Regions from separate parts of the Homo sapiens genome. Here region 2 is linked to region 1. Evidence: promoter capture Hi-C in human tissues and cell types (Jung and others, 2019). All regions are on one chromosome and are shown on one strand. The core of a region is centred on a gene start or on the middle of the fragment in contact, and the rest is flanking DNA. Distances in the headings are between cores, read along the strand shown. Region 1 holds the start of RD3 (RD3 regulator of GUCY2D). Region 2 has its middle 53 kb from the start of RD3.

Region 1 (2,700 bases), core at 133-2,632:
TGCCTCCAGCAACTTTCCTAAAGGGAAGGTAAAGTCTTGTCATCCCCCTGCTCCCTTCCCTACAGTGTGGAAATGCCTGGGAATTTCTGCCCTTGGACCTCCAAGCCACGCCCCTTGGGAAAGTGCCAGGATAGTGGTGGGGTGCTCAGAGGTGGGGACTCCCAGTTACCTGCTTTGGGTGACTCTGGCCTTAGCTGGCCCTGAGGTGGAGGCCGCCTGGGAACTGTGGGTCAGAGGAAGTCAGCTTCAGCTCCCTCAAATGTGGGGATCTTCCATCCCCAAGTGACCCACTCAATCTTTGGGGCTGTCGTGCTGTGAACTGGTCAAGAGAAGTATATGATCCAACTCCTGACTCAAGAATCTTGCCTGCTTGATGGATGAAGAGGGAAGGCGGATGGAACCAGCTGAGTGGAACCAGCCACAGAGCAAGCACGAAGTGACAAATCACCCAGGGACGAAATCATGCAGGCAGGCAGGTGGGCAACCTGAGTCCATTTCATCAGCCATTGTTTAATTTATTCTTGGTTGTACTTTCTGCTTTATTTCCAACACAATCAAAACCAGATGTGTGCAAAAGTCACGCTATCACCCAGCACAGGATTACCTAAGATCTATTATAATGCAGCTTCATGCCCATTACAGTATTCCCATGCCCCTCACAGGGCAGTGTGCATCTGTTTTAGTGCTACCTAATGTCTGTTAGGTGCAAGCTGGCCCACACATGGCTTCTAGGCAGAACAGTCTACAAGTGACAGCGTGACCAGAGAGCAGAGACAGGAAGGAGGCCCAGACATGAGTGTGGGATGCTGCAGAACAGCAACAGGATGCTTCTGCTATCCCCAAATGTTATCTCAAATACCTCAACGTCAATGCTTTCTGTTCCATGTTCCTCTTCTCCCTGGACAGCCCCTCCTTCTGAAAGTCAGAACTGTCTGCTCTTGAGCTTGCCTTGAGGGAAGGAAATAATTTAGATAAGCAGAGAGGAAGACAGGCAAGGGATGTGGTGGGGCAAAGGCGGAGATGTATCTTCACAGGTCCCTGTCCTCAGCACCCAGAATCACCCCTTCCCTGTAGGAGGGAGCTGATAGAAAGAGGGGATCTCCATCCAGGAGCCACCCACCAGGCAGCTGGAAACATTTGCCAACAGCAGGTACACCTAGGGCTCAGCAGAGGGTTGGGTGAGAATGGTCTTGCCCAGTTTGTGCCACACTGAGCACCGGCTGGAGGAGGAAGCGGACAGAATGCCATCTGGACACAAGTGCTCCCTCACTGCCTGGGCCTGGGTCGCCTCAGGCTTTTGTGTCAGATCAGCCACTCCCTCTACAGATAATGCTGCTCCAGGCAAAGAGGCTTAGGTGGGTCTCCAGGGCAACCGCAGCTCAGGAGCTGGCCCGCCTCCATGGTTCATCAGGGAAGCTGTGGCTCCAGCCTCGCGGGATACATACACGCATACACACACACACACACACACACACACACACACACACACACACACCTACACACCCCACAAACAATAGTCCAGGCTGGATCTCTCCTCCTGTCTCTTCTCTTGGTAAAACTTCTCAGAGAACCAAAGAGAGGCAAAATTTGAGGCCAGCCGGCAGCAGCAGAGAAGCTGAGGGAGACTTGAGGATGTAGACTGCCCTGCCCTGCTGTGGCTGCTCAACTTTCTTTTTTTTTCCTGAAAATATCCAGACACTCTCTTCTCCCAGACTGGGAAGCAGAACGCAGGCCCCCTGCTGTGACGCTGCACCTGAGCAGAGGCTGACCTCAGAGGTAAGATGGAGGTCTCCCCAGGAGACAGTGTCTTCCCCACCCGCACCCTGGCACAGCTGCACCTTTGGAAGTTAGGGCTGAGGCTTGAAGCTGGGTGGGGTGGCCTCAAGGGGTGTGGCAGGCTGGGGAGCCTAGAAAGCCGCCCACCTCCGGGACCCAGATGGCCACAGGAAGGCCCCTTTAGTCCTCATCAGTTCCACAGGAGTTGGAACCGATGAGGGTCCTGCAGCTTCCTCGGGGCTATAGCCTGCTCCTTGTTTTGTAAACCTGTGGGAAGCCATTGTTTTTGCCTGTTCTGGAACTGCAAGCCTCTCGGGGAGGACCCAGCTCCAGCAGGTTCCTTTCTGCCTTTATAGAGTGGACACAGGCAGGGGGAAGGAAAGCGAAACCCAAATCAGAGACTCTTGCATGGGTTTGCGAACTGTGATTCGAGCATCTACTAAGTCCAAGGCACAGAGTCAGGCTCTGGGGATGCAGCAGCACCCAGGGCACGAGGGTGATGGATGTGCCTCAGTCCCCTCGAACATGGAGCAGTCTGTGCATCCCTGATAACATGCCCAGGAGAGTGGGCCCAGGCAGATGGGTGCAGGGTGGGGCGCCAGGGAGATCGGGCCTAGAAGGAAAGTCCAGCTGCGACCAAGGGATGAGGGTCAGTCCCCTCCCACTGTGGTCAGTCAGACCTGTGTACACGCCCTCTCCTGGCTGCACCTCTGCCTCAGAATGGGAAGGACTGGCTGCCATTCACTCATTCATTCAGGAACCGCTTATCAAGTGCTACCATGTGCAGCAGATTCAACCCACATTCCTCTCGCCCTTGCAGAATTCATAGCTAGGTGGGGAAGAGATAAATACAACCCAAAGCGTGAGAAACGTGTTTGCTAGATGCCATGGTGATGGGCCCTTGTGTCAGGCCCTGGTGGCTGG
Region 2 (2,700 bases), core at 56-2,555, 53 kb after region 1:
TATGAGAATCTAATGCTGCTGATGATGTGACAAGAGGCAGAGCTCAGGCTGTAATGAGAGTGATGGGGAGTGGCTGTAAATGTAGATGAATCTTCACTCACTTGCCCGCTGGTCACCTCCTGCTGTGCAGCCAGGTTCCTAACAGGCCACAGACCAGTACCAATCTGTGCCCCAGGGAGTGGGAACCCCCACACTAGATGATTAATATTTACATTGAATTTTGAGAAGCACTAGCTGGGCGCAGTGGTTCACACTTTGGGCGGCCAAGGCAGGCAGATCACTTGAGGCCAGGAGTTCGAGACCAGTCTGGCCAGCATGGCAAAACCCTGTCTCTACTAAAAATACAAAAATTAGCCGGGTGTGGTGGCCTCCCAGCTACTTGGGAGGCTGAGGGAGAAGAATCACTTCAACCCAGGAGGTGCCTTTGAGGCCTGGAGTTCAAGACCAGCCTGGCCAACATGGTGAAACCCCATCTCTACTAAAAATACAAAAAATTTAGCTGGGCATAGTGGTGCGTGCCTGTAGTCCCAGCTAACCGGGTGGCTGAGGCAGGAGAATCGCTTGAACCCAGGAGGCGATGTTGTGGTGAGCTGAGATCACACCACTGCACTCCAGCCTGAGCAACAAAGCAAGACTCTGTCTCAAAATAAATAAAATAGAGATGATAATATCAATAAACCCTTATCAGTGACATACTTGAGAGGTAAAGAGTGCTTCACTATACTTTTTGTAAAATTCCACACAAAGCATTTTAAAATCTAATATATGGGATGTCTTTTTAAAATGGTCACTTCTATAATGTATTTATATTTATAGCACAATTTGTATGCAATAAAAATATAAAATCTACAAATTATGGAATATGCCAGTGTCTCAGTCCATTCCTGCTACTATAACAAAATATCTTAGAGTGGGTAATTTATAAACAACAGAAATTTATTTCTCACAGTTCTGGAGGTTGGAAAATCCAAGATCAGCGCCAGCAGGTTCAGCGTCACTCCCTGCTTCCAAAATGGTGCTTTCTTGGTGCATATTAACATGGTAGAAAGAGTGAAAAGGAACAAGCAGCTTCCTTGCACCTTTTGTAAGGTCATTAATCCCATTCATAAGAGCTCTGCCCTCATGACTTAATTACTTTCTAAAGACCCCACCTCTTAATTGTAGCATATTGGCAATTATGTTTCAATATATGAATTTTGGGGGGTACATTTAGACCACAGCAGCCAATTTCCTAGTCCATGACATATATGTGAACATCCTGGAATACAGAGGGGTTGGGAGTATAAGTAACTCTCCATCTATGTATTTCCACAATCCCAATCACATTTTACACTCATACAGACACTCCAAATACTCTTTCTCCTCTTTCTGTGTTGGTTTCTAGTTTTCTGGTTAGCAATTGCCAAAGCAGGAAAATAAGAAAGCCCACGACAACGGAACTGTCCAGAGTTTCGTTTCTTTATGCAAGAGTATTGTGTCCTGGCTGGGCGCAGTGGCTCACGCCTGTAATCCCAGCACTTTGGGAGGCAGAGGCAGGTGGATCACTTGAGGCCAGGAGTTCGAAGCCAGGAGTTCAAGACCAGCCTGGCCAACACGGTGAAACCCCATCTCTACTAAGAATACAAAAATTAGCCAGGCGTGTTGGCACGTGCCTGTAATCCCAGCTACTTTGGAGGCTGAGGCAGGAGAATAGCTTGAACCCTGGAAGTGGAGGTTGCAGTGAGCTGAGATCATGCCACTGCACTCCAGCCTGGGCGACAGAGTGAGACTCTGTCTCAAAAAAGAAAAAAAAGAATATTGTGTCCCATTAGTTGAAGAATACAGTAATTTAGTTTTGTAGTTTTATTTATTTATTTAGAGACAAGAGTCTCACTCTGTTGTTCAGGCTGGAATGCAGTGGCTCAATATCGGCTCACTGCAGCCTCCGCCTCCCGGGTTCCAGTGAATCTCCTGCCTCAGCCTCCCAGGTAGCTGGGATTACAAGCGCCTGCCACCACATCCGGCTAATTTTTGTATTTTTAGTAGAGATGGGGTTTCACCATGTTGGCCAGGCTGCTCTTGAACTCCTGACCTCAGTTGATCTGCTTGCCTTGGCCTCCCAAAGTGCTAGGATTACAGGCATGAGCCACCACACCTGGCCTTTATTATTTTTTTAGAGACAGGATCTGACTGTCATCCAGGCTGGAGTGCAATGGCATGATCATGGGTCACTCACTGCTGCCTCAAACTCCTGGGATCAAGTGATCCTACTGCCTCAGCCTCCCCAGTAGCTCGGACTACAGGTGTGTGCCACTATGCCCAGCTAATTTTTAAATTTTATTTTTGTAGAGACAGGGTTGCACTATGTTGCCCGGGCTTGTCATGAACTCCTGGCCTCAAGTGACCCTCCCACCTCAGCCTCCCAAAGAGCTAGGATTACAACCATGAGCCGCTTTACCTGGCTAGTCTTGTATTTTAATCAATGTCTCCATAGAATTTGTACCTATGCTAACAAGGAAATATTATCAATTTGAGTTTTATCTTTAACTAAAAACTAGGCATTTGGATCCAGGAACATCAGAAATTCAACCGTGATATTTCAGATCTCAGGGAGAGGTTTCTAACTTTATTTTTTAGAGGAAGAAACTAAAGCTTAGGGGGTAATACGACTTTTCCACGTGAAAGGATAGGGTTTTCTCCCTCCTTTATCCCCTCCTTTAG

The links. Contacts are between HindIII fragments. The study calls those that stand out against the background at their distance.
Region 2: a contact is called between a fragment that was not itself captured here and the fragment with the promoter of RD3 in region 1, in 4 of the 25 tissues and cell types used here (mesenchymal stem cells, ovary, pancreas and 1 more).

The regions. Positions count from the first base shown.
Region 1 is chr1:211,490,844-211,493,543 of GRCh38, reverse strand. RD3 (RD3 regulator of GUCY2D) reads left to right here and starts at 1,382. Exons shown (of 3, transcript NM_001164688.2): 1 at 1,382-1,776. The HindIII fragment of the contact is 12,360 bases long and covers 1-2,700 here.
Region 2 is chr1:211,437,428-211,440,127 of GRCh38, reverse strand. No RefSeq gene overlaps it. Among named protein-coding and RNA genes, the nearest start is that of RD3, 53 kb to the left of the region's middle. RefSeq lists a silencer at 360-583. The HindIII fragment of the contact is 6,200 bases long and covers 1-2,700 here.